Linked DNA regions of Homo sapiens: region 2 is linked to region 1. The links are contacts of gene promoters, found by promoter capture Hi-C in blood cells and fetal thymus (Javierre and others, 2016). All regions are on one chromosome and are shown on one strand. The core of a region is centred on a gene start or on the middle of the fragment in contact, and the rest is flanking DNA. Distances in the headings are between cores, read along the strand shown. Region 1 holds the start of SMAD9 (SMAD family member 9). Region 2 has its middle 23 kb from the start of CCNA1.

Evidence for each region. Contacts are between HindIII fragments. The CHiCAGO score rates a contact against its expected background, and 5 or more counts as called.
Region 2: a fragment that was not itself captured here is called in contact with the fragment with the promoter of SMAD9 in region 1 in 1 of 17 cell types (total B cells); the score reaches 5.1 in total B cells.

What each region holds. Positions count from the first base shown.
Region 1 is chr13:36,917,024-36,923,116 of GRCh38, forward strand. SMAD9 (SMAD family member 9) reads right to left here and starts at 3,215. Exons shown (of 7, transcript NM_001127217.3): 1 at 3,093-3,215. It also overlaps the pseudogene LAMTOR3P1. RefSeq lists silencers at 3,126-3,195, 3,306-3,355. The HindIII fragment of the contact is 8,984 bases long and covers 593-6,093 here.
Region 2 is chr13:36,406,673-36,412,818 of GRCh38, forward strand. No RefSeq gene overlaps it. Among named protein-coding and RNA genes, the nearest start is that of CCNA1, 23 kb to the right of the region's middle. The HindIII fragment of the contact is 1,125 bases long and covers 2,827-3,951 here.

The sequences.
Region 1 (6,093 bases), core at 1,965-4,464:
CTAACACAAAAGGAAGCCGACACCAAAGGAGAGCAGAATACAAGTCAGGCAAGTGCGGCCGAGGTGTCCGTCATGGTTTTGGGGTAGGAAGTGTCAGGATGAAGACCACCAAGCAAGAAGAACATCCAGTTTTCATGGGTATAATGACTCCTAATGCTAACAGATATCTTGAAATCCTAACAACTTTAGTTGACACAAGTTTCTTAAGAGACAAAATTTACCGGAATATTTATTTTAAAAGGTTAGTTTATTACCAAGGGATAATTGTTTATTTTTTTAATGTCCTTACTTAGGACATGGACATTCACCAGGATAACATGAAACATTGTGAAAATGCTCACAGTATTGTTAAGTACTTATGCATTTACTGTTTGCATTTTTTTTTTTTGCTTTAGAATAACTTTTCAACCCACTAGCAACAGTAACCAAGGAAATATAAATCCAACAGCCTAGAATTACAACTATTTGAGAAGATTCATGGTTTCAACGTACTGCTATATTTACTGTTTCATTCTGGACAGTTTCCCGTTTCTTTAACTCCTCTCTAAGTGTCCAAAACAATATACAGAAAGTCTGCACTAAGCTTCGTTAAAGCTTTAAAATTTAGCATAGTATGTCTGGCAAATCAGAAAAACCACATATTTGTCATAACCTTTACCTTCCCTAAAATCAGAGTACATCCTGTGGATAAGGATTATTTCCCACATATTAAAGCAGAACATGATGAAACTGCTGTCCTATTTATTACAGAGGGAATGTCAGATATAAAGTAGTTACCTTAATCCTACGGTGCTCACTTACGAAACACCATCCCTCCAGTTTGGCAATGCATAGTGCACTCTCATTAATCAGAATTAAACTATTTGGAAAACATATTGAGTATTTTCATATTGACATTGAATATTTTCATCTTTATGAAACAATTTCTGGACAGACTTTTTTCCCTCCAACTGACCACATGATTAGTAAAGATAGTGTACCACTTGTTTATTACTTATGGATATCTTTAGTAATGTTTCATTTAAAAAACAAAACAAAACTCTTCTTTCTCATCCATGTCTTGGGCAATCACAGATGCAAGAGTTGACATCTGTGAATATTTTCTGATTACTTACTAACTAGGAATATATAAGTTAAAAAAATTTTTTAAAGGAGAAAAGCCAAATAGTTCATGTTGACTTTGAAAGACTGATGACAATGATGTGGCAATTCTAAAGTACTTAGAGGTTTAACCCAAAATTTGTTTACGTCTTTGATTTTTAGTAAACACTGCACTGATAAACATGAGTTTGTTCAGATCAAGAGTATGTTGGCATTCTCTTAAGCATAGTTTGAAACCAGAGAGCTCAAGCATAAAACAGCTCTGACAAAGATAACCAGTCAAGCATAAAAATGGGAGTTGGTTGTGTCAGAATACATTAAGAGGCCGAAGGCTGTCTGGCAGACAGCTGTCTTGCCATCACTGAAGGTGACTATTACCACTAAAAGTTGTTTTTCGGATACAGTACTTGAAATTGCTGTCATCTTGTATTTAAAATGCTCCTTATTTATAAAGCGTCACATCCTTTTCTTATCTGAAGCCTCCTTCTTGGATAACCACAAACCTAAAAGCAGTCTAAAATTGTGCTGATGCTTTCCTACAAGCACAGGGAAACTCTTATATTGAATCTTTGTCTATTTGGAGTTGAGAATGTCTTTGGCTTTTATTTTAAATGCCTTCTTAAATATAGATCACTATTTTTAAAATGTAAACATCCAAAGGCATTCCCTCACACTTGGAGGAATGCTAAGGCAGGAGACATGCTTGTAGTAGTCACATTTCACTTTCCCAGACGGGTGCCACAAACGTTCCGCTCAGTTACTGCTTAGGAGGCAGCATTATTAAATGCCTCACGACTTAACGGTCAGCCTCCATGCTTCTTGCTAACCTACATTTCCAAAAGATCATCCGAGAAATCTGGCAAGCCACCGAAATGGTACTAGTAAACTGGATCCATCCAAAGCACTCCACAGTGCCCTGTGGGTGTGTTTCTCACTGTAAACTACTGGGTAAAGAATTTACATACAATTTTATCTCCAAACTCGATTTGTATCCTTTGTAGGTTAGTTCTCAGGAGTACCCACTCCAGCCCAGAAATAAGTCAACGTAGTATTTCCAAACTATCACTTCAAATGTCCACGGTCAAGGGCAGGAGGAGGAAGGAATAGTAACGGGAAAACTTGTCAGCGATTAGCCATCCATAAAAATGTTCTCCCAGCGCTCCTCCTTCCGATCACAAAGCTGGCGTCAGGCAGTCTCCTGTATCTGCTTCCCACCTCGCCCCCTCCCCTCTGCGGAGAGCTGGCACCGAGGGGCGGGCCAAGGAAAAGACAAACACCCCGGCTCCGACACAGTCCAAGCGCGAGCCCGGAGACACTTCAACAACATTCCTAACTTTTTTTCTCAGTTCGCATGCCTCAAAGGTAAACAAAGCAAAAAGCCTACGAAACAGAAGGCAAGTGAGGCCAATTCGGCGCTGGCGAGTTTAAAAGTGGCCCCCAAAGAGTCACAATGACGACCCCCGCCGCCCCCTCTGTCCGCTGTCCCCTATCTCCAGCTACAGCAAGCGACCCCTCAGGCGCCTATCCTGGTCCCTGCCCACGCCCCGGGCCCCAGCCCCGACCCGACCGCCGCCCCCGCCGCGGGTCGAACATCCCCTGACAGGTCCCGGGGCCCGCGGCGCGGGCGGATGCAGGCGCGAGGAAGGCGAGCTGCGCCGCGGCCAACTCCCCAGAGCAGTCCCCTCCGGCCCCGCGCCCACCCCACCCCACCCCACTCCACCCCAGACAGGCTCCACCAAAAAACCCGGGAACAACGACCGCCAAAAGCCAAGCCTCACGCCGAGGAGCCTCCCAGGCTGCCCCGAGGACGAACAACTTCGCCCTCCACTCAATGCGCTCACACGCACGCACACAAGCAGCGCGCGGCCGAGGAGGGCACGTCTTACCTGTCCCCGCCGTGCCACTCATCCCTCCCCCACCCAGGTCCGGCGCCCCCAACCCCGCCCCCGCCGTGGTCCCCCGGCCGCCCGCTCCGAGCGCCGCGCACTCACTGCCTGGCTGCGCGCGCCCAGCGCCTGCAGGGCCCGGCGGCGGCGGCGGGGACCGAGACAGCGGCTGCAGCAGCGGCGGCGGCGGCGGCGGCGGCGGCGGCCCCAGCCGGCGTCAGTCAGACTGGAGCCGCGAAGCCTCATCGCCCGTATTAGTGCGCCGACCTGGAAAGCGGCCAGGGAGCCCTGCTTGCGGCCCGCCCCCGCCCGCCGCCGCGCGCTCTGGCCGCTCCGGGAGCCGCAGAGGAGGGGGCTGCGCGGGCCCGGCGGGGGGCGGGAGCGAGACCGGCCCCACGGCCACGTGCGCGGAAACTCGCGGCGCGGGGGTGGCGGGGTAGTACTCCTCGCAGCGGCCTGCGGCTCGGTTCCCGCCTCTTCCCCACCCCCAGCCCCGCGCTGCCCTCTCGGTCCCCCTGCGCGACCCCAGGCTCGGCCCCTGCCCGGCCTGCCGGGGTGGCCCGGGGGTGGGGTGGGAGCCCTTTGTCTGCGTGGGTCGCCTCGCGTCTCTCTCTCCCACCCCACCTCTGAGATTTCTTGCCAGCACCTGGAGCCCGAAACCAGAAGAGTTGTCAGCCCAACAAGAATATAGGATCACCGGCCCATCAGTCTGGAGACCCTTCTGAGCTGCTGTTCCTCACATGTTTCTGGGCCCTGATAGTGACTCTCACTTGCCCTGTTTGTTCCTGATTTGCTTTTCGGAGTAAGGGGATCCTGTCCCCATGGACAGTGACAGAGCAACTGGGCCGCAATGGCATAGGCAGAAGAAAATCTAATCACTCTGGGGGTGAGTGGTGGTTAAAACGACTCATGTAATTATGTGGATTGTAATTTCCTTACACATATTTATTTGCTTAACAACCCAGCATGTGAGATATATTATCTAATCTAATAAAAGATACAAACTTATGGGCACACAGCAATGTTACTGTACAACTTTCTCGTCTCACGGCCTGGCTGTCCCCCAGGTAGCCTGCCTCTTAAAGTCACTGTGGACTCCTGGAACCCACTCAGAAACGCCACTTAGGAAGAACCACCTCTGATTCCCCATCAGCCCGTAGTTCCTCACAGAAAAGGCATTTGCTGCAGGGGTGAACGTGGAATAAAGCCACAGGGCAGTTTTCAGCTTGCTCCTGTGTGCAGGAAAGTCATACCTCCAGTTGGCCCCGATGGCGGCTCCGAAATGTAAAGCAAGGCCTTAAATTTAACTGCTTTTTCTAGTTCTCAAAGCACTGCACTTTCTTCATGGCAGATGCTATTTTTGCATTATTATACCGTTGTAGTTGAACGGTGATTTGTTTAAAACAACATTTGCAGCAGAACCTTAAATACCATGCCTTAACCTCAAAGTCTTCTTTCTACACTGGCCCAGATACCTCTGCACCCGGCTATGTGTTGGGTTTGAGATTGTCCTGGGTGAGAAACACCAGGAAACAGCGGGACCGGTAAGGGCTACAGATTATATATTAAGGATTAGGCTGGATGTGGACTTTATTGCCAGTAAACTAATTAGGTCCTCAGAATTGATACCTTGTGGCTCAAGTTTTTAAAAATTAAATTAAGAAAAGAAATGGCCCAATCACTATCTCAGTTTCCTTCTCGTATATGAGCATAATGCAGAGGACAAGATGCAGAGAAAGAAATTATAACCTCTGCAGCGCTGGCTCATGCTTCTGGCATGGAGTCTTTCTCAGTTCGCAGAATTCTCTTGACTCTTGGCAGGCCTTTGATTTAGAGTATGTCTAGTCTGCTCTTTTCTGTACGTTCTCATTTACATACCAGGATATTTCTGCACGATGATGACTTTTTCCTGCCTAAACATTAGTCTGTCACTGATATAATTCCTATCATGTATTCCTCAAGGCTAGTATAGAAAGTTAATCCATTACGCTCAAGAACAATAAGATCTGGTGAGTTCCAAGAAGGAGAAAATGCTTGGCCTAAGACAGAAGGCGCAGTGTTGACACTCCATTTTACAGAAGCTGACTGTCCTGGTTAATGGAAAGCTAGACTTCGCTTTATCTTTCCCAGTGATTTCTTGATTGGCTGTGGTTTTACTGCTTAATAGAACTTCCACCAAAACATTCTGTTATGGGAATCATATGAAAGGAGAGACTCAGAGGTTGTGATTTGGTAGAACCGCCAGTGAAATTTTGGTTCAGGACCTCAAAACCACGGCAAAACTGAAATCTGTTTTCTGAAAGATGATAAGGTCTTGGCCTAACACGAACTCCCTCAGGCTATAAAACAGTGGTAGGAAGGGCAGCTTCCTTACCCCAAGAGAGAGCCAATTCTTTGCATTTGCCATATACCCAGCATAAAACCAGACTGTGGTCTTTGAAGCTGTTCCTGAAGTGACAGTGGAGAGAACCGGGCAGCCCAGAAACCCCAGGCAAGGAGATTGATCCTGCAAGAGAAGGGGGTTCATCATGGCGGATGACCTAAAGCGATTCATGTATCAAATGTTACAAAGTGTTGAAGGGCTCCATGCTATTGTTGTGTCAGAGTTGGAGTACCTGTTATTAAAGTGGCCATTGATAATGCTCCAGAGCATGCTTTGAGACCTGGTTTCTTACCTACTTTTGCCCTTGCAACAGACCACGGGAGCAAACTTGGACTTTCAAAAAATAAAAGTATCATCTGTTACTGTTACACCTACCTGGTGATTCAGTTAAATCATTTACCTTTGGTGGTGAGTTTCATAGCCAGCAGCAATGCCAATACAGAACTAATTGTCAGCCTAGAAAAGAAACTTACTCCATTATTTGAAGAATTGAGACAAGTTGTGGAAGTTTCTTAATCAGACAGTGGTTTCAATGTGTACCTTATCTTTATTATAACAACACAATATCGATCCAGCAATCTTTAGACCATAATACTTTTATCCATGTCCTCAAGAAAGGGCCTCTTTTTCCAACTTATACTGAAGAGCAAGCATATAGATAAAATTTATGGACGGATTGATTGTTATATTTTCTGGTGTAGGGTCTTTTCTTATTTAGTGAGA
Region 2 (6,146 bases), core at 2,139-4,638, 510 kb before region 1:
TCCAAGTGATAGGGGGTTATTATTAAAGATCCTGGTCGGGCGCCGTGGCTCACGCCTGTAATCCCAGCACTTTGGGAGGCCAAGGCGGGTGGATCACCTGAGGTCAGGAGTTTGAGACCAGCCTGGCCAACATGGAGAAACCTTGTCTCTACTAAAAATACAAAAATTAGCCAGGCGCGGTGGCACATGCCTGTAATCCCAGCTACTCAGGGGGCTGAGGCAGGAGAATTGCTTGAACCCCAGAGGTGGAGGTTGCAGTGAGCAGAGATTGTACCACTGCACTCCAGCCTGGGCAACAGAGTAAGACTCTGTCTCTAAATAAATAAATAAATAAATAAAGATTCTCAGGTGAGAGTTTTCAGTTTTTATTTTTCTTTTCTACCCAGAGCAAAAGAGTATAGTCCTTCGAGTGTACTAATGTGTTTTGGGGCCTGGAATCTAACTCAGCTTTGTTCAGGCCAAAGGTCTTTCCTTTTTGCTCCAGAACAGTCATTAAAATCCAAGGCTCTTTTTACTGTATTTGAGGTGTTTTTGTGTAGGAATAGTTTTTCAGTGCGTGCCATATCACTAAAAGGAACTAAAGTCTTTGACAGTGGAATAACTCCTGGACAATTTTCTATTAAATATACAAATAAATCAGGAGTTGTGATTTTAAAACCACATGAAGTCAGGTTGTATTTTCTTAGCACTTTCGGGTAAAGAACAAAAATAAAAACAATTTCATGTGTGATAAAAGTAATTGGGAAGAGGTGTATTTTAGGATAATATGGATATGATAGCCATAAGAAAAATCATACGGTTTTATCCTTACTAATAAATAACATTGCTTAAAGGGTTAGCACCCTAAAAAATTTATCTTCTTGTGTATTGTTAAAGGAATTTGGCTCTGATGCATGAGTATGAACATCTATTAACACAATGAAATTAGTCCACAGCAGAACTGTTAGTTTAAGCCATGTTTGGCCAACACATATCTTCCTTGAAAAAGAATTAGACTAAAAGAGATGATTATCCCTTAAAAGCCATTTAGCACAACCCACATCTCATACCTTAATTTGTAATTTTTCATACAAATTCAGTTCTTTTCAGTAGTTTGGTGAATGGTATGTCACTTTTTAGATGGCAGCACTTATTTTTGAAGATCGCTATTAAGTAGAAGAAAACTGGCTACTTTCTATGTAAATATTTTGTTAAATATTTATAGCTCTCTCTAGAAGTTCTCCATCCGTTTCCATGACAGAGTCTAGCAGTAGATGTACCCAAAAAAATCTCCCAGGAATATCTTGTTTAGACTTATTTTGGGGAACCACTAACTCATCCTTATGGGTCCAGAGGGAAGCTATGGGCAGAGTCCCATGAGCCAGCTTCTGCACTTGAGAGTATGTAGAACCCCTGGGGGAGTGGGGGGGGATCCTAATATCAGGGAGAAAAGCTCTCCTTGTCTATAAACATGAAAAGTGAAACAAATGTTGACTTTCAGGGTGCTTAGTGATAAATCAGTTCAGAAGAAGAAGAAGGAGGAGAAGGAGAAGGAGGGGAAGGGGAAGAAGAAGAGGAAGAAGAAGAAGAGGAAGAAAAAGAAGAGGAAGAAGAAGAAGAGGAATAAGAAGGAGGAGGAGAAGAAGAAGAAAGAAGAGGAAGAAGAGGTAGAAGAAGAAGAAGGAGAAGGAGAAGGAGAGGAAGAAGAAGAAGAAGAAGAAGAAGAAGAAGAAGAAGAAGAAGAAGAAGAAGAAGAAGAGGAAGAAGAAGAAGAAGAATTAAAGAAACAAAGCTCTAGCTTTTGCTGATCAAATACCTTGAGGTCAGTGGAGGCTTCAGAGCTAGACTAGCTCTTTAATCCCGTCTTCATGTAACATCACTAGGTATTCTCTTACCCTTGTATGATCCCTGCTACAGGCTTAAAATGACTTTTGTGAAATTTATCTGGTGTCTAAGTGTTTGGTTTCGGGAGAGTTTAAAAACAAAACAAAAACCAAAACGTGAATGCTCTATTGCCAGAGGCAGACTATCTTAGCCATCTTGTATCCCTTATTCTGAATATTTAGTAGGTAACCATGATGTTTTTTGTTAAATTCAATAACAAGCACATTAATCTAATCATTGTTAAAAACAGAAGTGAGAGAGATACTATCAGCTTTATTTTTGAGCAGTGGTTTATCCCAAATACATGTGTTTTATCAGCTACCCTTTCTGTTTATAATCTGGCTTTGGAATTCCAGAAGACCATATAATTAAGAGAAATAATAATCAAAACAGCACCATATAACCTTTTTATTTTCTTTCCAAAGCAAATTTAGATAATATATTACTTTTTGTAACTTGGTACCTTTTCCAGAATGCTTTTCTTTGCCCCAGCAGCAAATAACAACAAAATCCCTGAAGCCTCCAAATATTGGAAACTATTTTTCTTGGAGTTTCCATGGTATCTCCTTAATGTAAGTGGATCTGAAAAGGCTTTGCAGATAAATATGTGAAAATAAATTTTATATCACTTCTAAAATCTGGCACGGGAAATTATCTCTAAAGACATTCATCTCATTGACTTGGCAGTTTTATTAAACTTTAATCACCATTTAAATATTTTCATTATTGAAGAGTGCATGTTCCCATAAGGTAAAGATTCAGCTACCCAGAGCTTGAAGGATAAATATATAAGTTCCACAAAGGTCTTATAACCCTTAGACACAGTTGAGTAATAATGCAGAATTAAATAGTGCTGTCAGCACTGAATCTATCAGTGAGAACAACGAGAGTCAAAGTGGGTGACATATTTCAACAAATGGTATCAGTAGAATATTATAAGAATCAGGATAGCTCAGAAGACTAAGCTTCATATCTAATTAATCCTGAAACATTATTTAATTGCCCAAATTAAATAATACTATTTCATGTTCCTAATTTCATAGGGGAAGGAGACCCATTCTAAAGAGATCTTAGTCTGGCCTTTTAAAAAGTCATCCTCATTCAGGACAGTTATTCAATTTCTTTTTAATTCTTCATTTCAAAGAGGAATAATTATGTCTACTTATTTTGAGTAATAAGTTATTGTATAATGTGTTCTAAGTGAAACTTAATTAGTAAGTCACCAGTCACATTTAGTGAAAATAGAAAACATACTTCCCTTTGTTTTCAGAAATAAGTAATTGCTTTTGTCAGTCCACAGAAAGCTGTTGACCATCTGCTATTCCTAATACTTTGAACACTGTGGAAAAAGTGTCAGAAGTAGAATAATAGTGCATTTATGATTGTTCTGGGAAACAAGAAACCAAGAATTGGACAAATTGTCTGGGTGCAGTGGCTCATGCCTGTAATCCCAGCACTTTGGGAGACCAAGGAAGGAGGATTACCTGAGGTCAGGAGTTTGATACCAGCCTGGCCAACATGGTGAAACCCTGTCTCTACTAAAAATACAAAAAAGAAAATTAGCTGGGTGTGGTAGTGCACGCCTATAATCCCAGCTATTCGGGAGGCTGAGGCAGGAGAATTGCTTGAATCTGGAAAGTGGAGGTTTCAGTGAGCCAAAATAATATCACTACACTCCAGCCTGGGTGACAGAGTGAGACTCCATCTCAAAAAAAAAAAAAAGGAATTGGACAAATGAAATATGTAGACATAGTCACTGCCTATGAGCCAAAATACAAATTTTTCTTTTAAATGTTAACATTACGTTGAAAAAGAAAAGAAACTGTATTTTCCTTAGTTTCATTATGATAGAGATATAACAATATTTTAATTAAAATGTATAAAAAGAATAATAATCTAATTCAGGGTAAAAATGCTAATGTACACAGAGAGCTTATGGTGTGACCTGAGTTTGCACAGGTGAGTGAGCTGTAGTTCTTTTCCAACAGAAGTCCATGTGCGGATCTGGACCTTTCCAGGTAGCAGTTCTGACCATGGCCTTCTAGCATGCACTCTCCTGGCTCACACCACCCCACAGATTGAGAAGAAAGCTTTCTCTGCCAATAATCCCATCATTTCTTTGTGATACACATTAAGTAAGACTCACTGAATTACTTCAGTGAAATCTTTGTTAAATGGGCCTTTGTGTATATGGTACTGTGTTTGGTTGCTTGTATTCAGAAATTAATCACATTGATAATGCGTCTGCTCCATGAAAATCTGTATTACTGTATTAGTTATCACACAATAATACAAAGGGAAAAGAAACCAATTTAGTAAAAACACAGACTATGTTATTCATAGATTTGAACTGAAGGATAATTACTGAAAGCTAAGCTTTTAAAATAATATATATGCTGATTAAAAGGCAACCCTAAATATGAGGTGGCTCTCTGTTTTCATAATGGAAAAATACAAAAAGCTTTTTGGTCAACATGAATATATGAACACAATGGATGTTAACAAAATAGTCAATGTTTACTTGAGCTAGTTAATATGAATCTGCTTATACAATTATATTTGAAATAATATTATAAAAATGTGCCAATTTTGAAATATTTCTTCTCATTTCAGAAATAATTTTACTCAAATTTTCTTCAAATTCTTGAAGACAAGAGTCTTCATTATCAGAAGAGCCACTGTTTGAGCCATCTAATTTTTTCCAATTTTAAGTATCTTGAGATAAAACAACTTTTAAGATAAAATACCTTTGGATTGGCATATGATACTATAATTGTAAGTTTTATTCCAAAACAAAGTAGCCAATTGTGAAACAGTAGAACAATTGTTTTTCATTGTCCTATGAGACTTACATTTGTTATCTCCACAAAGCAAAGGTGAGTTGCTTTATGAAAAACTGATCTTAGTAATCTTGTTTATATCCATATCCCAGCACTACAATTTGAAGGTCCTACCTGGAAGAATAATTACCAAATCTGTACTAAAAGGCTTTGTCTTTTTATTAGCTCAGTTAGATGACCTTTTAAGATTCCCCATATAGCTCTAATTGACATCTTTTCAGGCTAATTTGTCTTTCCTAAATAATTTGTAATTAAAATAGAATAATTGGAAGAATACTTCCATCAAACAAGAATCTTGGAGAGGGCTTGGATATTAAGTGTCTTAGTTCATTTGGGCTGCCACAGCAGAATACCATAGAGTGAGTACCTTATAAACAACAAATATTTATTTCTCATAGTTCTGGAAATTGGGAACTCCAATATCAAGGTGCCTGTAGATTCAGTGTCTGGTGAGGACCCGCTTCCTTATTCATAGTGGCAGTCTTCTCATTGTGTCTTCACAGAGCAGAAGGGGAGAGGGAGATCTCTGGGGTCTCTTTTATGAAGACGCTAGTCCCATTCATGAGGTTTCCTCCCTCATGACCTAATCAACTCCTAAAGACTCAGTCTCCTAATGCCATCACCTTGGAAGTTAGGATTTCGACATATGAATTTGAGGGGACATAAACATTTAGTCTATAGCGTTAAGTAACTCTTTTTCTCTGAGGACTAATTTGGTAAAACACAAAAACAAACAACATTCTTCAAATAACCTGGTCTATATTTTGGCTTAACAGTTACTCACATTTTGTTGTAGTTTTGTCTTTGGTATTATTGTTCTTTAGGGTAAAGTTTTTCAATCATTGAAGCCACAGAAAATCTTTAAGGTATTTACCATATTCATGTTTAACCATTTACACACTGCTATAAAGAAATGCCTGAGACTGGGTAATTTATAAAGGAAAGAGGTTTAATTGACTTGAAGTTCTGCATGGCTGGGGAGGCCTCAGAAAATTTAGAATTGTTGCAGAAGGTGAAGGGAAAGCAGGCACCTTCTTCACAAGGCAGCAGGAAGGAGGAGAGGAGGGAAAACTGCCATTTATAAAGCCATTAGATCTCGTGAGAATTCACTTGCTATCATGAAAACAACATGGGGGAAATCACCCTATGATCCAATCATCTCCCACCAGGACCCTCCCTCAACATGTGGGGATTATGGGAATTACAATTTGAGCTGAGATTTGGGTGGGGACACAGAACCAAACTATATCAACATGGCATGGTGGTTTTAACCACGCCTACAAATTCTTTGACACTACTCCTATAAAAAGATAGAACCCAATTCCGCTTCTCTTGAATATAAGCCAACCTAAGTGACTCAAGTTTAACAAATGAAATGTTCTGAAAGTGACATTGTGTGAGTTCTGAGGCTAGGTTGGAAAAGGCAAGATAGTGTCTGCCTGG